Regions from separate parts of the Homo sapiens genome. Here regions 1, 2, 3, 5 and 6 are each linked to region 4. The links are contacts of gene promoters, found by promoter capture Hi-C in blood cells and fetal thymus (Javierre and others, 2016). All regions are on one chromosome and are shown on one strand. The core of a region is centred on a gene start or on the middle of the fragment in contact, and the rest is flanking DNA. Distances in the headings are between cores, read along the strand shown.

What was found. The method cuts DNA at HindIII sites, captures the fragments that hold promoters and counts their contacts. A CHiCAGO score of 5 or more calls a contact.
Region 1: a fragment that was not itself captured here is called in contact with the fragment with the promoter of BRD7 in region 4 in 14 of 17 cell types (neutrophils, naive CD8 T cells, total CD8 T cells and 11 more); the score reaches 31.9 in neutrophils.
Region 2: a contact is called between a fragment that was not itself captured here and the fragment with the promoter of BRD7 in region 4, in 14 of 17 cell types (naive CD8 T cells, total CD8 T cells, total CD4 T cells and 11 more). The highest score is 23.7, in naive CD8 T cells.
Region 3: a fragment that was not itself captured here is called in contact with the fragment with the promoter of BRD7 in region 4 in 16 of 17 cell types (total CD4 T cells, naive CD8 T cells, naive CD4 T cells and 13 more); the score reaches 35.4 in total CD4 T cells.
Region 5: a contact is called between a fragment that was not itself captured here and the fragment with the promoter of BRD7 in region 4, in 16 of 17 cell types (naive CD8 T cells, total CD8 T cells, neutrophils and 13 more). The highest score is 32.7, in naive CD8 T cells.
Region 6: a fragment that was not itself captured here is called in contact with the fragment with the promoter of BRD7 in region 4 in 17 of 17 cell types (total CD4 T cells, naive CD8 T cells, total CD8 T cells and 14 more); the score reaches 36.5 in total CD4 T cells.

The regions. Positions count from the first base shown.
Region 1 is chr16:50,049,624-50,053,121 of GRCh38, forward strand. The region is part of intron 2 of HEATR3-AS1 (HEATR3 antisense RNA 1); the gene reads right to left. Among named protein-coding and RNA genes, the nearest start is that of HEATR3, 15 kb to the right of the region's middle. The HindIII fragment of the contact is 9,594 bases long and covers 1-3,498 here.
Region 2 is chr16:50,102,000-50,105,700 of GRCh38, forward strand. HEATR3 (HEAT repeat containing 3) reads left to right here. Exons shown (of 15, transcript NM_182922.4): 14 at 260-436; 15 at 2,940-3,701. The coding sequence ends at 3,062. Among named protein-coding and RNA genes, the nearest start is that of HEATR3-AS1, 38 kb to the left of the region's middle. The HindIII fragment of the contact is 3,825 bases long and covers 322-3,701 here.
Region 3 is chr16:50,686,803-50,690,571 of GRCh38, forward strand. No RefSeq gene overlaps it. Among named protein-coding and RNA genes, the nearest start is that of NOD2, 4.9 kb to the right of the region's middle. The HindIII fragment of the contact is 3,251 bases long and covers 1-3,061 here.
Region 4 is chr16:50,367,539-50,371,031 of GRCh38, forward strand. BRD7 (bromodomain containing 7) reads right to left here and starts at 1,450. Exons shown (of 17, transcript NM_013263.5): 1 at 1,188-1,450; 2 at 552-760. The coding sequence starts at 1,236. RefSeq lists silencers at 839-1,348, 1,379-1,628. The HindIII fragment of the contact is 8,339 bases long and covers 1-2,358 here.
Region 5 is chr16:50,082,526-50,086,619 of GRCh38, forward strand. It overlaps HEATR3 (HEAT repeat containing 3), which reads left to right. Exons shown (of 15, transcript NM_182922.4): 8 at 1,412-1,502; 9 at 1,609-1,766; 10 at 2,044-2,126; 11 at 3,690-3,826. Among named protein-coding and RNA genes, the nearest start is that of HEATR3-AS1, 18 kb to the left of the region's middle. The HindIII fragment of the contact is 2,772 bases long and covers 838-3,609 here.
Region 6 is chr16:50,668,730-50,672,257 of GRCh38, forward strand. It overlaps LOC101927272 (a long non-coding RNA gene), which reads left to right and starts at 126. Exons shown (of 3, transcript NR_110908.1): 1 at 126-431; 2 at 1,954-2,264; 3 at 2,419-2,910. SNX20 (sorting nexin 20) reads right to left here. Exons shown (of 4, transcript NM_182854.4): 4 at 2,900-3,528. The HindIII fragment of the contact is 1,314 bases long and covers 594-1,907 here.

The sequences.
Region 1 (3,498 bases), core at 712-3,211, 320 kb before region 4:
TTACCTATTTCCTTTTCTCCTTTTTTTTTTTTTTTTTTTTTTGAGACAGAGTCTCACACTGTTGCCCGGGCTGGAGTGCAATGGCGCAACCTTGGCTCACTGCAACCTCTGCCTCCCCGGTTCACGTGATTCTCCTGCCTCAGCCTCCCGAGTAGCTGGGATTACAGGTACACACCACCACGCCTGGCTAATTTTTTGTATTTTTAGAAAAGACAAGGTTTCACTATGTTGGCCAGACTGGTCTCCAACTTCTGACCCTGTGATCGGACTGCCTTGGCCTCCCAAAGTGCTAGGATTACAGATGTGAGCCACCGCGCCCAGCCAAGGTTATCTATTTCTTTTGCAAGTATAATGTGGCATCAACAGACATGATTCTTTAGAGTTTACCTAACTTTGCATGTTTTATCACATTTGACACAGATTCCCTAAGTAATCAATTGTAAACATTTTATTTATTTATTTGAGATACGTAAAACAAGCCATCTGTTACTTTTTTTTTTTTTTTTTTTTTTTTTAGATAGAGTCTTACTCTGTTGCCCAGGCTGGAGTGCAGTGGCAGGATCTCAGCTCACTGCAACCTCTGCCTCCTGGCATCAAGTGACTCGCCTGCCTCAGCCTCCTAAGTAGCTAGGATTACAGGCGCTCAATACCACACCCGGCTAATTTTTTTGTATTTTTAGTAGAGATGGAGTTTCACCTTGTTGGTCAGGCTAGTCTCAAACTCCTGACCTCAAATGATCCACCCACCTTGGCCTCTCAAAGTGCTGGGATTACAGGTATGAGCCACCACGCCCGGTCACTCCATCAGTTACTTTTAAAAAATCCTTACTTCCAGGCTGGGTGTGGTGGTTCACGCCTGTAATCTCAGCACTTTGGGAGGCCAAGTTGGGAGGATCACTTGAGCCCAGGAGTTCGAGACCAGCCTGAGCAACATGGCAACACCCTGTCTCTACCAAAAATGCAAAAATTAGCCAGGCATGGTGGTGCCCACCTGTAGTTCCAGCTACTCAGGAGGGCTGAGGTGGAAGAATGGTTTCTGTCTGGCAGGTGGAAGCTGCAGTGAGCTGAGATCATGCCTTGCACTCCAGCCTGGGCAACAGAGTCAGACCCTGTCTCAAAAATATTAATTAAAAAGAAAAAATAAATAAAAATTTCTTACCTCCATTGTTACCTGAAAATTTGATAAATCCTGATTTTGATGTAGCATGGAAGATAATGCAAAAACAAAAATACATAATCACTAATATTAATAGTTACTTATTTAAAAACTGAAGTGATATTAGCCCATTGATCAGTTAAAAATAAATAAAACAAGTACAAAAATAGAGTAACCTTTAGAGGAATCAGGGCTTGCCTTGACATAATTAAAACCAGATGGGAATGCAAGCAGCTAAAGCAATATACAAAGAACAAAGTTTGGAGGCATCTATCTGACTTCAAAAGATTCTACGAGGCCATAATAAACGAAACAGCATGATATTGGCATAAAAACAGACACACAGACCAACTGAACAGAATAGAGAATTCAGAAGTAAATCCACATATTTACAGCCAACTGATTTTTTTTTCTGTGTGAATTCCGCCACAAACAGCCAACTGATTTTTGACAAAGGTGACAACAACATACACTGGTGAAAGGACACTCTCAATAAACGGTGCTGGGAAATCTAGATATCCCTATGCAGAAGAATGAATCTAGACCCCTCTCTCACCACGTACAAAAAATCAACTAAAAATGAATTAAAGGCTTAAATGCAAGACCTGAAACTATAAAACTACTAGAAAAAGCATAGGGAAAATGCTTCAGGACATTGGTCTAGGCAAAGATTTTATGCCTAAGACTTCAAAAGCACAGGCAACAAAAACAAAAACAGACAAAAGAGGCTATATTAAACTAAGAAGAAAAGGAAACAATCAACAGAGTAAAGAGACAACCTGTAAAATATGAGAAATTATTTCCAAACCATTCATCCAACAAGGGACTAATATCCAGAATATACAAGGGACTAATATCCAGAATATACAAGGAACTCAAGCAACTCAACAGCAAAAAAACAAATAATCCCATTAAAAAGTGGCAAAGGCTGGGTGTGGTGGCTCACACCTGTAATCCCAGCACTTTGGGAGACTGAGGCAGGCAGATCACAAGGTCAGGAGATTGAGTCCAGCATGGCCAACATGGTGAAACCCCATCTCTATTAAAAACACAAAAAAATTAGCCAGGCGTGGTGGCATGTGCCTTTAGTCCCAGCTACTCTGGAGGCTGAGGCAGGAGAATTGCTTGAACCTGGGAGGTGGAGGTTGCAGTGAGCCAAGATCATGCCACTGCACTCCAGCCTGGGTGACAGAGTGAGACTCCATCTCAAAAAAAAAAAAAAGGAGGGGTAAAGACCACATGAATAGGCACATCTCAAAAGAAGACACACAAATAGCCAACAGGTATATGCAAATATGCTTAACAGCACTAATCATCAGATAAATGTAAATCAAAACCACAATGAACTATCATCTCACTCCAGTTAGAATGGCTATTATCAAAAAGACAATAAATAAATAAATAAATAACAAATGCTGGCAAGGATGTGGAGAAAAGGGAACTCTTATATAATTTTGGTGGGAATGTAAATTAGTACAGCCATTATGGAAAACAGCATGAAGTTTCCTCAAAAAACTGAAAATAGAACTACTGTATAATCCAGCAATTTCACCACTGTGTATTTATCCAAAGGAAAGGAAATCAGCATATCAAAGGTATACCTGCTCCAGCCATGTTTATTGCAGGACTATTCACAATAGCCAAGTTACAGAATCAACCTAAGTATTCATCAACCAATGAGTGGATAAAGAAAATGTGGTATATATACACAGTGGAATACTATTCAGCCACAAAAAAGAATAAAATCCTATCACAGCAACGTGGATGGAATTGGAGGTCATTATTTTAAGTGAGATAAGCCAGGCACACAAAGACAAATATTGCATGTTCTCATTCACATGTGGAAGCTAAAAAAGTTGCTCTCATGGAAGTGGAGAGTAGAATGATGGTTACCAGGGGCTGGAAGGAAGTAGGGGAGGGAGCTTGGTTAATGGGTGCAAACACATAGTCAGATAGAAAAAACAAGCTCTAGTGTCCAGTATCACAATAGGGTAACTGTAATTAACAACAATTTATCGTACATTTCAAAATAGCTACAAGGAGAATATTGAACGTTCCCAATGCAAAGAAATAATAAATGTTTGAGATGATGAACATGCTAATTACCATGCTCTGAGCACTATACATTATATGTATTGAAACATCCCTATGTACCCCATGAATATACACAATTATTTCTTGTCAATATAAAAAATCAAAATTTAAAACAAAACAAATAAAAATTGCTAGAAGAGATTTCAAATATTCCCAACACAAAGAAATGATGAATGTTTGAGGTGATGGATATGCTAATTACCCCGATTTGATTATTACATTGTACGGATTATATGTATCAAAGTATC
Region 2 (3,701 bases), core at 984-3,483, 260 kb before region 4:
AAAATTTAGTGATTTCCAAAATCATACATCATTTATGGATTTTAATTCACTTTATTTATGAATATAAACTATAATATGTTTAATTTATCTTGCTTATACTTGGTATGTTTATAAGTATTTAAGTCTAATCTCTTGAAGTTTTAATTTTTCCCTGGCATTTGTATATAAAATAGTATGCATGAGTTATTGCCACATTCAAAGTTGGTACTTGTTTTGGAGACTGGTGTTAGTCATACTAAATGTGTTTTGTTGTTTCCAGAACATTGGGTGCTTTCTGCTTGAAGTTACCACCAAAGATCCTTCCCTTGTGGTAGCAGGAGAAGCTTTGGATGCCCTCTTTGATGTTTTTGCAGATGGTAAAGAAGCCGAAAGAGCCTCGATTCAAATTAAATTATTATCTGCTCTGAAAGAATTCCAGCCGGTCTTTAAAATGAAGGTTTGTAGCCATTTAACTTATAAATACATAAGTCTGAACATTCTGTGGGGACAAGGGTGTGTGTAGTTACCGCTGTGCAACTCAGAAGCATGTGCATGACGAATCCCCATATGTAGCACAGCATCCCCAGTACTTTGTAAAATGTTCGTTGACTGAGTCATAGCTCAACAGTGTGACTACTGAATCATTGAAACTGAAGCTAAAATGGTATCTGACAAGTTCTTCTTTTTTTAAGTTTAGTAATTTTGACAATGCTTCATATATGTCAGTATTATACTCTGTATTTTGCAAAGCACTTTCATACACATTTTGCATTTATTTAATTTTACTTTTTTTTGTTTTTTTGAGACAGAATCTCACTCTGTCGCCCATGCTGGAGTGCAGTGGTGCGATCTTGGCTCACTGCGACCTCCCCTTCCCCAGTTCAAGTGATTCTTGTGCCTCAGCCTCCCAAGTAGCTGGGATTACAGGTGTCCACCACATCACCCAAATAATTTTTGTATTTTTAGTAGAAACGGGGATTCGCCTTGTCATCCAGGCTGGTCTCGAACTCCCAACCTCAGGTGATCTGCCCACCTTGGCCTCCCAAAGTGCTGGGATTACAGGTGTGAGCCACTGTGCCCAGCCATATTGTTCTTAAAGGTTACAGTCCTTTAAATTTCTGGATAAAGAGCTTGCAAGATAAGAAAAAAATATCCCCTATTTCCCTGCAGCTTCAAGGAAAGCAGATATATTAATAGTTAGAGTCATCAAACTCTGCAGAAGCAGGTGCTTAAAAAAGGTTAAACAGTGAACTGGGAAAATAACCCCTGACTTCTGAAAGGTCTTTGTTCTGATTGATTTTCCTACTCAGTATGTATTGCTGTGGTAATAACATTTGTTTTTCTTTTATCAAAGGTATAAAGCTCTAATGAGATTTCTTCCTAGCCAGAGGCTAGCCTGTAGTTATTTATGTGAAACTCTTTTTTTTGCTAAATGAAGCCACAATTTGTGTTAAAGGCTATTCAGTGTATATTTAGCTGCAAAATGCATTTATGTACAATCAAGAACTTCTCTTGAGCAGTGTTTCTCAAAAGTGCCCTCCTTGTATCAGCAGCATCAGCCCTTGCCTGATAACTTATTCAAAATGCAGGTCCTCGGCCCCAACTCCTGACCTACTGAGTCATAGACTCTGTGGATGGGCCCACCAGTCTATTTTTCAACAAGCCTTCCAGATGATACCGTTGCACACTAAAACCTGAGAGCCACTGCTCTAGACTAGAGGTGAGATCAAACTCAGATTCCATACAATTGATATAAAAAACCACAGGCCAGGCGCAGTGGCTCACACCTGTAATCCCAGCACTTTGGGAGCCCCAGGTGGGAGGATCACTCGAGTCCAGGATTTCAAGACCAGCCTGGGAAACATAGCAAGAACTTGTCTCTACAAAAAAATTTTTTTAAGTTAGCCATTAAGTGGTGGCTCATGCCTGTCATCCCAGCTACTCAGGAAGCTGAGCAGGAGGATCGTGTGAGTGCAGGAGTTGGAGGCTACAGTGAGCTCAGTGGATTGCAGCACTGCACTCCAGCCTAGGCGATGAAGCAAGACCCATCTCTATTAAAAACAAAAAACAAGCAAACAAACAAAACCAGCGCTGGGCATGGTGGCTCACACCAGTAATCCCAGCACTATGGAAGGCCAAGGTGGTAGGATCACTTGAGCCCACGAGTTCAAGACCAGCCTGGGCAACATAGTGAGACCCCACCTCTACTAAAAATTTAAAAAAATTACTCCAGCATGGTAGTGCGCTGCTTGTAGTCCTAGCTACTGTGGTGGCAGAGGCAGGAGGATCACTTGCGTCCGGGAGGTCGAGGCTGCAGTGACCCATGACTGCAGCACGGCTCTCTGGCCTGGGCGACAGAGAGAGACCCTGTTCCAAAAACAAAAAAACCACAACACTACAGACTAACCTCTGGCTAACAAAGGAATTTTTTTTTTAAGGTGGGGTCTCACTGTGTTGCCCAGGCTAGTCTTGAACTCCTGGACTCAAGCAAACCTCCTGCCTCGGCCTCCCAAACTGCTGGGATTACAGGCATGAGTATGCACCCAGCCTAACAAAGGAATTTCATTAAGGCTTTATACCTTTGAGAGAAGAAAAACAATTAAGTATTATTACCATAGCAATGCATACTAACTAGGAAAATCAATCTGAACAGCAGACCTTTCAGAGGTTAGGGGTTATTTTCCCAATTCATGGTTTACATAATTCCTTTCTATAGTTTATATAACTCCTACCACCTGCCATTCAGTCACCTTTGTAACTATCATTTTTAATAATGCACATTCTCAGTTTATTCTTTACTTACCGAGTTCCATTTACCTTGGAAGTAAAAACATTTTTTCCAAATTCTTACAGCTATCTGCTTCAGCAAATGGTTAAATACACCCTAAATTAAATACTTTATTTAAATGAATTAATCATATCTACCAAGTCATATATGATTTTTTGTTTTTTGTTTGCAGATACGTAAAGAAGGGAGAGGTAACTATAGCACAGATCAGCTGTGTGTTCTTGACAATGTGAAAATGAATTTGCGAAGATTTATTGCTTATCAAGAAACTGTTGAGAAAAGACTGACTTCTTAAACAATCCAAAAAAGAAACCAGTTCTTCCCCCAAAGTATTCAATGCTTAGAATACTAAAAGGTTTTCTTTGAATGTATATGTTTCTGAAAGTCATTTTTTAATGATTACATTCTGTACATTCTGTAAAAACTTCAAAACCTGGCCAGGCATGGTGGCTCACGCCTATAATCCCAGCACCTTGGGAGACCGAGGCGGGTGGATCACTTGAGGTCAGGAGTTTGAGGCCAGCCTGGCCAACATGGTGAAACCGCATGCATAAGCATGGTGGCACATGCCTGTGATCCCAGCTACTCGGGAGGCTGAGGGAGGAGAGTCGGTTGAACCTGGGAGACAGAGGTTGCAGTGAGCTGAGATCACGCTACTGCACTCCAGCCTGGGTGACAGAGGGAGACCCTGTCTCCAAAAAAAAAAAAAAAAAAAAACTTCAAAACCTGTCAGAAACTCTGTTGCTGGTTTTTTTGTGTGTGTGTTTTGTTTGTTTGTTTTGTTTTGTTGTTTTTTTCTTTTTTGAGATGGAGTCTCACTGCTGCCCAGGCTGTATTACAGTGCTGCGATCTTGGCTTACTGCAACCTCTGCCATTCCAGGTTCAAGCGATTCTCATGCCTCAGCCTCCTGAGTAGCTGGAATTACAGGCACCC
Region 3 (3,769 bases), core at 186-2,685, 320 kb after region 4:
CCTGAGGTGGGGAAGTGACAGAATGCTGGGTCTGGTCTTGAGGTAGGAATGGGGCAACCTCAGAGGCTGCCCAAGAGATGCAGGCACGTCAGGTTCCCAGGCTGGAGGCTGCTCTGTGGAGAGCTGCCTGCTCCAATGTGTCCTTCTTTCAAGCATTGTCCCTCTGTCAGTAAGTCACCCATGGATAGGGCGCAGTGGCTTACGCCTGTAATCCTAGCCTGGGAGGCTAAGGCAGGCAGATCACCTGAGGTCAAGGGTTTGAGACCAACCTGGCTAACATGCTGAAACCTTGTCTCTACTAAAAATACAAAAATTAGCTGGGCATGATGGCATATGCCTGTAGTCCCAGCTACCTGGGAGGCTGAGACAGGACAATCGCTTGAGCCCAGGGGGCGGAGGTTGCAGTGAGCTGAGATGGCGCCACTGCACTCCAGCCTAGGCAACAGAGTGAGACTCCACCTCGGAAAAAAAAAAAAAGTCACTCTGAAAACAGACTTGGCCAAGCACTGGGCCAGAGGCTGAGGTCCAGCAACAAGGAAGGGACAAGGAAGGGATACCTTGAACCCTCAGAGACTGGTGATACACAGGACGGACACATGGAACTTGGGCCAACAGTGTTGGACCGTCTCGGCTGATGGCCAACAGGAGAACAGGCAGGCTGATCTTTGCAGCTGAGAGGACTGGGAGAGCCCACAGGGACTGTGGGGTCTGGAGAGCTTCCTTGCAGGAGGTGGGCATGGAAGGTCCAGATAAAAGCAGGTAGAGAAGGACGTGGACTTGACTCATAGTCCCACCATTCCATAGCTGGGTCATCTTAGGAAATTCATGATCCTCTTGAAACCTCCGTTTCTTCCTGTCAAAGATGGGGATGAGGAATGGAACCTATTCCATAGAGGTGTTGTGAGAGTACACGGCGTGGCATATGGCAAGTGTTCAATAACATATTCACACTGTGGTGTGCTCACTGTTTACCAGGCACCGAGTCCTAGTGTATGCATCCCTCATGACAAGATCTAAGTGGACTGTCATCCTCACTTAACTGTGAGGGAGACTGAGGTCAAGAGAAATGAAATGACTGGCCAAGAGCATACAGCCGCTAAGGAGCAGGGCTGGAATTCAAATCCAAGTTCGCTGGGGCCAGAGTCCTTGCAGTTGCCACCTGTTGCCTCTGCCTGGGGCACAGAGTGAGCAGAAGCTCACAGGTGGGAGTACTGAGAGCTGCGGGAAGTTGGTGAAGCTAGGGGTGCAGAGATGTGGGGAGGGAAAGCCATTCCTGTCTTCATCCATTTGGGCCAGCTTGTGGAAGTGTTTGGACTTTGGTGAGTGGGCGGGCTGCTTGGAGCAGAGGACCACCAGCGTGGAGACTGCAGCCCACTATGAGGCCGGGTTACCACCACTGTCAGCAGCAGCAGCCGCCGTCGGTCCTGGGCTGAGCTCCTACTATCCAGGCCTGCTGATGGGGGCAGTCCTCGCTCCTGGGGGAAGTGCTCAGGCACAGGCAGCTTCCCGGCCTGGAAGAATTTTGAATGACACAATCCAAGGATTTCTCTCCTCTGAGGCCCGGGGGATTCTGGAAGCATTTTCCCTCCGCCTCTTCTGAGCACTTCCTGCACGGTGCCCATGTCAGAGCACTCAAGGACAGAAATGTCTCCAGGGCATCCCAATTGCCTGTCTCGGCAGAGGGCCCTGCACACAGGGAGTTTTTAATCAATATCCCTTAACTCATTGGAAAGTTTTAAAAAATTATTATTAAACAAGTAAATTATGCTTATTAGGAAATACAGGTTAACACAGAAGAATTTTAAAAGTCCAGTTAAAATCCGATCCTAACTTGTCTTTTAGATGTTTCAATGCATATATTCACACATATCTATTACAGAATTTTTGTATAAAGTATGAGGTAGTAGTCCAAATTCATTTCTTTTGCACGTGGATATCTAGTTTTCCCAGCACCATGTGTTAAAGAGATCATTTTTCCCCTTTGAATTATCTTGGCATCCTTGTTAAAAAACAACCTACTCTTTAAATTTAGCCTTATATTCTTTCTACACAAAGCATTTGGCAGCCCAACTGTTTTTCATTGAGATATAATTCACATACCATAAAACTCACCCTTTTAAGGTGTGTAATTCACTGGTTTTTAGTCCATTCACAAGGTTGTGTAACCATCACCATGATCTAATTCCGGAATATTTTCATCATGCAAAAACAAAACAAAACAAAACAAAACAAAAACCAAACCTCATGCCCACTAGCAGTCACTCCTCATTCCTCCCTCCTCTCAGTTCCTGGCAACCAACAAATCTACTTTCTGTCTTCATGGGTTTGCCTATTCCGGACATTGCATGTAAACGGACTTACACAATAGATGTCATTTTGTGACTGGCTTCTTTCACTTAGCATAATGTTTTCAAGGTTCATTTATGTTGTAGCATTTATCAGTACTTTGTTTTTTTCACAGCTGAATAATATTCCATTGCACAGATAGATCACATTTTCTTTATCCATTCATCAGCTGAGGGACATTTAGTTTGCTTCCACTTTTTCCTCTTATGAATAATGTTGCTATGAACATTTGTGTACAAGCATTTGTGTGCATATATGCTTCAATTCTGTTGAGTATACCTAGGAGTAGAATTGCTGGATCATATGGTAACACCATGTTTAACTTTATGAAGAACCCACAAACTATTTTCCACAGTGGCTTCACCACTTTACGCTCTAACCACCAATGTATGAGGCTTCCAGTTTCTCCACATTATTTCCAGCACTTGTTTTCTGTCCTTTGGACTAAGGGCACCTTTGTGAGTGTAAAGTGGTATCTTATGGTGGCTTTGATTCACATTTCCCTAACAATTAATGATGTTGAGCGTCTTTTCATGTGCTTGTTGGCTACTTACATACGTTCTCTGAACATTTTCAAATCCTTTGCTCATTTAAAAAGTTGTTTGTTATTGAGTTTCAGGAGTCCTTTATATATTCTGGATATGAGTCGTGACTATTTTCTCCCATTCCGTTGGTTGTCTTTTTACTTTCTTGATCATGTCTTTCAAAGCACAAAAGCTTGGAATTTTGATAAAGTCCAACTTATCTATTTTTTTCTTTGGTTGTTTGTGCTTTAGGTGTCAAATCTGAGAAATCATTGCTTCATCCAAGGTCACAAAGATTTTCACCTATGTTTTCTTCTAAGATTTTTATATTTTAAATCTTGCATTTGGGACTTTGATCCATTTTGGGTTAATTTTTGTATAAGGCCTGAAGGAGGAATCCAAATTCAGTTCTTTTGCATGTGGACATCTAGTTTTCCCAGCACCATTTGTTAAAAAGACCACTTTTTTCCCCCTGAATCATCTTGGCATCCTCGTTCAAAAAAGAGTCTACTTTATAAATTTAGCCTTATATATTCTAGGCAGCTTTCTATCTGATAAACATACTTATAGCATCTTTAAAAAATAAATATCTATTGAAATATGACAAGCATAAAGGAAAATATAAATATCATGTGTTTAACTTGGTCAGTTTCACAATGTATTTGCATCAATGCAACCACTATTCAGAGTAAAAATAGGAGATTACTGGCACCCCAGAAGTCCCCTTCACTCCTCCCCTAGTCACTACCTCCAACTTTCTCCCCAGTGGTAGCCTCTATCTTGGCTCCTACCTGTAATGCAGTTTTGCCTGCTTTTGAACTTTATAGAAAGGATACCATTCCGTATGCACGCTCTTGCACTCAGCCTGTTTCACCCAACATTATGTCTGTGAGGCTGCA
Region 4 (3,493 bases), core at 200-2,699:
GCCCAGCTTTCAAACCAAGATGGTAGCTACTCATTCTTTTCTGTTAAATGCAAATGGTTAAGAATATCAATCTCCATTACAGGTTTCTGACCAAATTTTCTCAACACACTACAACACTGTTTTAAAAGATTTAAAGTTGCTCATTACAGATTTGGCATTATAATATTTATTTCAGAACAAACTTTAAACCCCAGTAGATCCCACTCGCTTCTGAAATGACTATTTTTGACAATCCTTGAACACTGAGGCTTTCTTGAGCATGACTTTTTACCCTGCCTAGATGGAAAAACCATTCTTTGAAGCAGCTCCTCAAAATTTGGACTTAGCTGCTTCCTCACCTGATGTGCGAGTACAATTGCCTAAGAGTATAATCCAAAAACGACTTGCTGAAACTCATAGATGATTCATGTCTCTATTCTGTCCTGCTCCTCCTCAAACGAGCCAGATCTTAGAGGCGTTTGTTTTCCCCAGATACAAAGAAAATAAAATGAGGTTGGCACCTGGAAGAGGCAGTGCCGTCCGCAAAGCCAAAGCAATGTAACCACTTGTACCTTAACTCTTCTCCGTTTTCTCCCCTTTTCTTCCCCTGGAATCTGCTTCTCTCCTTTCTTTCTCTTTTTCCGCTTTCTGTCCTTGTGTTTGTCATGATCGTTTTTGTCTTCGAAGAGGCTGGAGTCGTGCCCCGAGCTGCCCGTGGAGAGTTCGGTGACTTCGTTCCCTCCTACTTTGAGGACCAGCTTCAAGGGCTTCTCTACATACTCTTAAAAAAAGAAAAGAAAAGAAAGGAAAGCGCGTCGATTAAAATCGGGGCTCTCCAGGGAGTGCTAAGGATGCAGAGCGCCAAGGCGCAGCAAGCCCGAGGCGGCTTTGGGCGCTCCGCGAAGCACCTGTTGAATGACGGACCCCGGCCCGGGGGTGCGGCGGCGCCGCCCGCCCCGAACGCTCCCAGGCCTCCCGGGCCCGCCTCACGTCTCCCCACCAGAGACCCACCGGACCAGGGGGACCCGGGTTCGAATGCCGCGGCCGCACGGGGGGCAGCGCGGCCTCCGGCAGGACGCGCCCCCTTCGCCGGCCTGGGCCTGCCGTGGGAAGGAAGGGCCCCGGGCCGCCCCGGAGCCACTGGGAAAGAGCGGAAGCCCGGCAGAGCCGCCGAGGGCCCGCCGCCCGCACCCCGGCCCCCTCCTCACCCTCGTAGAGGTGTTTGTCCGACTTGTGCTTCTTGTGCTTCTTGCCCATGTCCGACCGGGCCCCGGTGCCCGCCCCCCGCGCCAGGCCCAGGCCGTGCGGCGCCGCTTCCGGTCCGGGCCAGGCGAGCGGAGGGCGGGAGCGGGGCCCGCGAGACCCCGCGCCGCGAGGCAGGGGGGCGGCGCGCGCCGGGCGGCGCGATGCCCCTCTCGAGAAGACGGCGCGCGAGACCCGGCCGGAGCCCGAGAGCGGCGGCGGGGGGGGCGCGCGGCCGGCGCAGAGGCGGGAAAGAAGGCCCGCCGCGCGCACAGGGTGCCGGCGGCTGCGGGTGGCGGCCCCTGGCGACCGGAGGTGGTGCTGCAGCTCGCGGGCCGGGGGCGGGGCCGAGGGCGGGGCCGGGGCGGGATCCACCGCTCAGACTCTCGTCTTTCTTCCTTCCTCCCTTTCCCCTCAATTTGTCTGTCTTGTCTCTGTCTCTGTGTGTCTCTCCCTCCGTCTCCACTTCCCTCCCTTCTTTTTACTCCCTCCCTCTCTTTCTTTCTCTTTCCCTTCTTCCCTTCCTTCCTCCTTCCTTCCTTTCTTTCTTCCCTCCTTACTGCCTCCCTTCAAGCCTTCCTTCTCTCTTTTCTTCCTCCCTCATCACCCTTCCTTCTCCTCTTCCCGTCTCCTTCCCTCTTTTTTTCTTTTCTTTTTTTCCCCTTCCTCCTTCCCCCACTCTTCCTTTCTTTCCACTTTCCCTTGCTTCTGTTTCTTCCCTTTTACGATATTGACTGAACCCCATACTGGGTGCCAGACCCAGCAAACTCAGCACATTGGTGACTGAAGATTCTAATCTTAAAAAAAACTTATGTGCTGATAGGTGAAGGTTACCAGACGTTTTGACTGTCTTTACTTCTAGCTGTATGGTGCTTTGTCTGTTTTCAGATAAGCTCGTAATTATAGTCTCCTCTTAAGAAAGGATCTGTTATCAGTCATTTATACTTTAGTAACAATTTAGACCCATGAATCACCTCTCCCAGGAAGATTTGTAGCTTTACCTTGAACTTCAGTGGTGAAATTATAGGCTTATATTTTAGGACCCTATTGTTGGCAACTAATAGAAACCAATTTGAATTATTTCAAGTAAATAAAAAGGGATTTATTGGTTTACATGTCTAGAAAGGGCAAGAATAAAGCTTGCCAGAGGGAAGACAGGAACCAAGGATGTAATGCTGTTGACTGGCATGCCAGCTCGCTCTCTCTCTTGTCTCTCTGTATATCGGTCTCCATCTCCCCCCTTCTTTCCTATATGGCTGGAAACATGGCCACCATCTGCTTCTGAGGCCTCTTCTTTATAGTGTCCTGACCAACTGGGAAAAAGATCTCTTCCTGTCAGCTTCACCTGGAAAACAGTCCCAGGGAAGGACTCTGATTGGCTTGGCTTGTGTCACATGTTTTATGGGACAGGGGATGGGAGATTGATTCGGCCTGGATGCCAAATCTACCCCCTCACCCCCTTGGCCAAGAGAAGTGGAGTCTGTGATTGGCAGCTCCTGCCAGACTTCTATGGTTAGCCAGGGAAGATGAGGTTCTTCTAATGAAGAGAGTTGCTTTTTCATGAAAGCTAAAAGTGTGTGTCTATTATTTCCCTGTAACAAGCCTCTCTGGTGTCCGTGAGGCAGAGATCAGGGTGTGGGAAGAGGGGTTGTGTTGGGGAAGAGACCTTCTGCTGCTCTGAAATCAAGCCAGCTAGGCCCCCTAGGCCCCCTAAGCATAGGGCAAAGCTTGGTTTCAGCTTTTCATCCACTGTCTGTAACTTATTTTGCTTTAAGAACCACTATGCCAACTCCCACTGTGGGTCTGGCCTCTATTGTGGCATTGCCTTGCTCCAGGCTCAACCTGTGGGTTTACCTGTCTGCTCCTCATTACCCTGGGTACCTCCTTGGTACTTACAGTGCCTAGCACAGTGACTACTACTGTCCAAATGCCCCTCAGAGGAAAAAGGTCTGGTGAACTCATCCATACTATCAAGTTAGTAATTTCCCTACCCTCTCAAGAGTGATTCTACATAGGTCACAAAGTGGTCACATCAATGGAAAGTGAATAAGAGTACGTAGCAGAAAACACCTCCCAGAAAAATGTTCCTGGAAGTGGAAGCCCAAATTCATCTAGTTTTAAATTCTCAGCACTAATACCATGCCTGGCACATAGAAGGCACCAGAAAATGCTAGTTGAGCTGCACGGTCCTGGTTCGGGCAGACTCCCCTGAGAGATTTCTGCCTGCTGCCATTCATGACCTCCCAGTGAGTGTAGAATGGCCTGGAGACTG
Region 5 (4,094 bases), core at 974-3,473, 280 kb before region 4:
AATTCAAATTTAGGGATCCCTGAGCTACGTCTATTGAATTAGCAATTTGCTTTTTTTTTTTTTAAGAATATGCTTAGAAGTTACAGTTAAATTGTTGCACAAAGAAGCCACTGGGGCTGGACATGGTGCTCATGCCTGTAATCTCAACACTTTTGGGAGGCTGAGGTGGGAGGATTACTTGAGGTCAGGATTTCAAGACCAGCTTGGGCAATATACTGAGACCCCATCTCTCAAAAAAAAAAAAAAAAGCAGGTAAATTTTTTTTCTTTTTCTTTTTCTTTTTTTCTTTTTTTTTGAGATGGAGTCTCACTCTGTTGCACAGTGGTACAATCTCGGCTCACTGCAACCTCTGCCTCCTGGGTTCAAGGGATTCTCCTGCCTTGGCCTCCCAAGTAGCTGGGATTACAGGCATGCACCGCCATGCCTGGCTAAGACCTTGTCTCTACAAAAATTAAAAAAATTAGCCAGGCATGGTGGCATGCACCTGTAGCCCTAGCTACTCAGAGGCTGCGGCAAGAGGATTGCTTGAGTCCAGGAATTTGAGGCTGCAGTGAGCTATGAACGTGCCACTGCACTCCAGCCTAGGCAACAGAGTGAGACTCTGTCTCTAAGGGGGAAAAAAAAAGACAATTGAAAACTGAAGTTTGGAAATATTCAAATAGTAAAATATACATTATTTTTAGCTCATGTACTGTTTTGGAATATCAGTATGGTTATTTCACTTTCCATAGACAATTTGATAATTAAGGTTATATAAATTTATATTACCCATTTTAAGAAATGTTGGTTGATAATGTTAAGTTTAAGTTGGCGTTATATATTTTCAGAGAAAAAAAAAGCTTCCTTCTTTCTTTAGTCTTAGAGAAATGCTTTATTATAGTCTTTACAGAAAGGCAGGAAGCAAGTCTGTCTGCTCCATAGCAAGTTCTACAGGTCACATAAGGGCTCGTTAGTAGTGTGTGTTAGCGCAGCCATTCCAAGAAAGACATCTAAGCTAAGCATCTAAAAGCAGGTTTGGTGTTTCTAAGTGCCTGGTGTCTGAAATGAACTCTTGTTTAAATCTTAGTATGCCCAGCTACTTCTTGACACAGTAGATAAGTTTCAGGGTGAATTCTGTTCAGAATTCCTGAATATTTGTCTGTTCTCTCCAGCTAACTAAGTGACGCTTGGGGAATAGCCATGCAGATAGATGGAAACCCAGTTAACGGGGGCATGCTCCACTGTACCAAGAGGAATTATAATGCTCGTTTGTACTTCTGGCACTTCATGACTTTTCTTTTACCTACCCCATTCCCCGTGTGCTCTATTCCAAGCGCAAAAATCTTCTAGTAGGCTTTCACTAAGGAAATTCCCCAAAAACATTTTCCCAACCATTGAGAGTTGGTCATTTACTTTTTTTTTTTTTTTTAAGCCCACTGACAAGGAACTGAGAGAGACTATAGCATTGCTGACAGCCCAACAGACTGCTCTGGAAATTATTGTCAACATGTGCTGCAATGAAGGTTTGTTAACATTTACATTTAGACATTTTCCCCCTGAGCCAAGAGGGAAACTCCCGTGGAGATTTTCTTAACTATTCCAGTTCTGCGTGGTTTGCCCGCTTCCCAGATCCCTCTGATGACGAATGGGAAGAGCTTTCTAGCAGTGATGAAAGTGACGCATTTATGGAGAATTCCTTCAGTGAGTGCGGGGGACAGCTGTTTTCTCCCCTCTGCCTCTCCCATGAAGTTCACACGGCTCTCACCAACTACCTCATCCCAAAGAAGGTAATCCATTTTCATTCTAGGCTTACCGTGGAGCATGGGAAAGGCTTAAGCAAGGTATTCATTTTGTGTACAAAAGAAGCAAGCTCACACTTCCAGGTTGTAGATGGTGGTAAGATCTGAGACAAAGCTGAGCCTAACAGTACTGGAAATAGGCGAAAAGGTCATTCTATATGAAGCCTAACCATTTCACTTAGGAGTAATATGTTGGAATTATGTAAGGGAATCGTGTTAAATGACTACTCTTTAACCTTTGCTTTACTGCCTCTTTTAAATCTAGATTTTTGAGAAAACTGCCTTTCCAAACAGCATTGCAGTTGACCTATGTTCTAGGAACCCTACTTGGAAACCTTTGATTAGAAAGTAAGAACTCTTCTGCTTTCAAAAACATTTGTCATTATTTTATTTTATGAAATGATGGGCTATTAAATAGAAGGTGCTGACTCCCCCTAGGACCCAGAAGTTTTGTTCCTGGGTATATATACCAGAAAAATATGTGCCCACATGCCCTAGAATACATGTATATGAGAGTGTTCATAGCAGTGTGTGTCACAGTTGCCCCAACCCATAAACAAACGTGTTGTCCATCAGAGTTAGAATGGTAAATAAATTTTGACAAAATCACGCAGTACAATACATGCAGCAGTAAAAGGGATCTGAATTAGAGCTACTCACAACTCGGATGGAACTTACATTGTTGAACCAAAAAAGCGAGACATAAAAGAATACACACACTGTGATTCAGTTTTTACAAAGTTGAGAAACAGGCAACATTGAACTATTTTGTTCAGGGATGCATACCTTGGTGATAAACCTATTAAAAAAAAAAAGAGGCAAGGAAATGTTTACCATAGAAGTCTGTATGGTGCTTACCTGTAGGTGTCAGGGAGGTGGGATATTATATGGAAGAGATACAGGGGCTTTCAGGGTCCAGCAGTGTTAATTTCTTTCCCAGGTGCATGGGTTTTGGTTTCATAGACTGTTTGTTAAACTCTCTATGTATGTTGTGTACTTAACTGTATATATGTCACATTTCACAATTAAAAATAATTTTAGGCTGGGCATGGTGGCTCACACCTATAATCCCAGGACTCTGGGAGGCCAAGGTAGGAGGATCACTTGAGGCCAGGAGTTTGAAACCAGCCTGGGCAGCATAGCAAGACCCCATCTCTACAAAGGAAAAAAAAATACAAAAATTAGCCTGGCATAGTGGCACTCAGCTGTAGTCCTAGCTACTTAGGAGGCTGAAGTGGGAGGATTGCTTGAGCTCAGCAGTCTAAGGCTGTAGTGAGCTATGATGGTGACACTGTACTCCAGCCTGGGAAACAGAATGAGACCCTGTCTGAAGAAAATTATAATTTTAAGGATGCTACCCTACATAGAAATTTTTCTAAAACATATTCCTCATGACTCATGAATGAGTTGTGTATCAGAGGCCGTGAATATTCAAGCAGTTTGATTTGGCAGATTAACAGTTCACCTTATAATTCTAGCACTTTGGAAGGTACAGGCAGGAGGATTGTTTGAGGCCAAGAGTTCCAGAGCAGCCTGGGCAACATAGCAAGACCCCTATCTACAAAAAATAAAAAACTTAGCCAGGTGTGGTTGCATGCACATGTAATCCTGCTCCTTAGGAGGCTGAGGCAGGAGGATCACTTGTGCTCAGGAGGTTGAGGCTACAGCGAGCTGTGATCACACCACTGCACTCCAGCCTGGGCAACAGAGTAAGACCCTGTCTAAAAAATGATGATAAATTTTAGAAAACACAAAAAACAGTTCACCTTGTGATTCTTTGCTAACTGCCATAGATACCTTGTATTTACAGATATTTCCAGTCAGAACGTGAAGCTTAGGCTAAAAGTTAATACTGAATTCTGATGGGCAACTTCTGGAGAATCAGATGGCATTGTTTCACTTCCTTTCCAGAATGAACACTATTCAGTGCAGAGCCCTCTTCTGTCTCCAGAGTCTTGTGTCCCTCCTGGATGTGGAGCACCTGGGAGGAGCCGCAGCCCTTCAGACGCTTGCACAGCATCTGTCACAGCTGCTTTTTTCTCAACCAGGTATTTAGACTTTATTGCGAAAGACTACGCAGACGGAACAGAATTTTGAAGGGGCAGGAATTTGGATTTTGTAAATGTATATTGTTTGTCATCCAATGTGCAGAAACCTTTCCCAGACACAGGAATCATGTATTTATAGTTGCCATGGGGTACAGAGTCAAAACGAGGTATGCAAGCAGCTCCTGGGCTTATAATTTTCTTTTTTGTTAAAATTGTTTGCATCCAGTTATATCAGGCCAGTCAAGGCTGTATCATAAATATCATAAAG
Region 6 (3,528 bases), core at 1-2,500, 300 kb after region 4:
GCCCAAGAGAGGCCTGCTGGGGATGTGTTGGGAGCCAACCTACCCCTACCAGCAGGTGGAACTGGTTTTGCCACTCCAAAACAGAGTTCCAGCTATGGGGACAGCCACTAGAGAGCAGAGCTAAGGGCATTCTAGGCCAAGGGGTCACAGTCCACCCTGAACTGTGCCTCCCAGCCTGAAGCCAGAAAGCTCAGGGAGGCTAGCGGCCCTGCCCAGGCCTCAGCACTGACCCTGCACCCCTAGGCCCAGCTGGATGACCCCTAAGAGCTTCCTGGAATTTGGATGCAGGGTTATTCTGTGTGTGCTGCCTCTCAGAGCATGTCACTTTGACGTGGACATCTCGGGTCTGGTTCTGGTGCTGTCCCTGTCTCGCCACGTGACCCTGGATAAGTCATCTCTCCAGGCCTTGATTTCCCCATCTGTAAACAGAGGTGAGTGAAATGATCTTTAAAGGCGTGTCAGTCCATTTTGCATTGCTATAAAGGAATACCTGAGGTTGGGTAGCTTATAAAGAAAAGAGGGTTATTTGGCTCACAGTTGTGCAGGTTGTACAGAAGCATGGCACCAGCATTGCTTCTTGTGAAGCTTCAGGAAGCTTCCACTTATGGTGGAAGGGGAAGGGGGAGTTCGTGACTTACATGGCAAGAGAGGGAGCAAGAGCCATGTCAGGCTCTTCTAAACAACCAGCTCTCATGTAAACTAACAGAGTGAGAACTCATTCATTACCACGGGGAGGGCACCAAGCCATCCATGAGGGACCTGCCCCCATGAGCCAAACATCTCCCACCAGGCCACACCTTCAACACTGGGAGTCACATTCAGCATGAGATTTGGAGGTGACCACCATGCATCCAAACCATATCAAGGACCCATTTCGGTGAGGGGACCAGGAACATATCCCTTCCCCTCTCCTCCACATCCTTTAATGTGGAGTTCAGCAAGGAAAGTAGGGCTTGGGTCAAATTAAAGCCTGGTCTTAATTTCCTGGTCCAGTTATTAGCTGTGTAACCCTGGGCAAGTCACTTAACCCCCTCAGGTTACAATGTTACAAATGATCACATTTTCCTCAACTGAAAAATGGGATAGGAACATGTCCCAAGCAGAGCTGGAGTGACGGTGCTATCAATGGCCCGGCAGTGCCTGGTCACACAGTAGGCCTGGGGAGCCCTGACTTTTACCGCACAGGGAGCTGCTTGCAGAGCTTGTTTTCAATTGTGGGCTTGGCAGGGAACTGCCGGCATCCCAGGGGACAGGGTCTCATGAGGATGCCTAATCCCAGCTCAAAGTGGAGACCCCAGGACTCCATCACAGCCAGTGGGGGGGAGTGGCTGCTGCAGCAGGGAGGGCTTCATTGGAATGAACCCCTTTAAGCTCCAGTCCAAATGCCCAGAGTGGTTTTGCAGGTATGGTTGTGAGGCTGGCATGGTAGTCCCATCTGCAGTCCCCTGGGATGAGGCACCTGTATGGTAGAGGGCCCGGGTGGAGAGAAGAGAAGGATGGGGATGAACCCAGGACCACAGATGGCCCAGTTCCATGGATGATTTTCATTGAGGTGCCTTCAAGTCAGTTCAACACTGGGCTTCTCAACCTTTGAGGTATGCAGGTAAGAGTCACCTGCGGCAGTGGGGGATGCTCTTGTTAAAGTGCAGACTCCGATTAAGCAGGTCTAGGGTGGGGCCTGAAATTCTGTGTTCCTAACAAGGCTCCATCCTGGGTATGGAGGTCAGGTACCCCCTCACCTCTCCTGTGGACCCAGCTTTTGAGGGGTCAGGAGAAGAATGTTCAGTCCCAGCTGCCACCACTCTAAAGTCCCCTAGAAACAAGGACTAATACAGGTGGCGTGGGAGAGGGCCCAGGCAAACAGGGAGGTGGGGTACCCCGGTGGGGCTGCAGTGGGCCCTGCGGAAAGCTTGCTGGAGGTGGGGGCCTAAGGAATTCAAGGACTTGTTCCAGGAACCCAAGGAACGAGTGGGCTCTAACTGCTGCAGCATATGGGAGATGCCAGGAGGAGCTGGCTGTGGCAGGCCATCCCAGTCCATCAGACAACTTGTAGTGGATGAAGATGCAGTGTCCATGGCCAGAAGAAACTCCCGTGGATGCTCAGGCCAAGGCTGCCAGAAGCACGAGGAGGGGCAGCATTGAGTGTCATCGGGAAAAGGCAAAGTGATGGTCCTGAAGCTGCCCCATGTGGCCAGTCCCTTTTTGGGAAGCCTGAATAAATCCATTTCCTGTGCACTGTGTGGGAAGCCAACCCCTCTTCAGAGGTACTTATGGGGAACCCCCCATGTGATTCTATAGGCTCCTTTACTCCCATATAAGTATTTTCTCTCTGTGTGCACCCCCCGCCCCACCCCCCCAACACCCCACACATATCATCTATCTGTGATTTTGAGATGACTTTTTTTTTTCACATTTCAGCACCTCTGAACTCAACAGGATCCTACACTTCTTATAGGCCTGGCTTGATGCTGACATCCTTCAGCCCCAGGGAAGACCTAAAGATCTCCAGGTCTTGAGGCACCTGGAACACCTCCACCTGAGACCACTTTAACATGATTTCTCTGCTTGAGGGATTTTGGACCATGCTGTGTGTATTCAGCCCTAAAACATGGGCGAGTGCCCGCTTGCAGTTCAAATTCTCAGAGGAAGTTCCCTGTACTCCACCCAGTGCCAAGTTTAGTTTGTGCAAATTTCCTTAATGTCCCCTCCTGTACAACAGGCTTATTTGGTGTTAACCCTCATATCGGGGGTCTAACTCTTTGCTTTTCCAGCTTTTGTGCTGGAATATCCCATTAAACTGTCCATGTTGGGTATTTTTTCTTTGTTAGTAAACATTTGTTGCATATTGTTGATAGCATTTTAGATTTGAAGAAATAACTGACAAAATCAATATCATCTGTTTCATCATTACAAATAGACTCATAGCTCTTTAATTTTTCCATTTAACACTTTAATTTTCCATAGGCCTAGATTTTCAAGAAGTCCAATATCTCTCACTTGAAGTGTCTTTTCCCTGGAGTAGATTGGGAGATTTGAGGGATATCTGTCCAAAGATGAGACAGTCTGTTTCTAGTTTCCCATCCAGCCTGATGGGGCGTCTACAGTTTTTACCACAAGGTGTCGCTGTTGAACAGATTCTGGTGCAGTCTAGTGCATAGCTGTCCACTTCTAGAGTGATCACTTGCTGGGCCAAGTTCCTCTCCTTAAGTGGTGTCTCACATTAAGGTTCCCAAATTACAGACTCATTAATTCACCCTAATAAGCTCATCCAGGCAGTTTAGGTCTTCAGGGGCTTCCAGCCTCCAACACACATTGGGCCAAAACCAGCCTGTACCACCAGCTCCAAGCCCTGTGTTGAATCTAGGTCATTGGTCCAGATGCCCCTTCATTCTGGGCCTGTGGTGTCCTTTCCAGACAGCAGACCTCAGTTAAGGGCATCCCAGTCCATCAGAGAAGTTCCAGGATCACAGACCCTCAAAAGGGGCAGTGTTGAGGATTCAGTCTGTTTTCTGCCCAGAGGCCCCATTA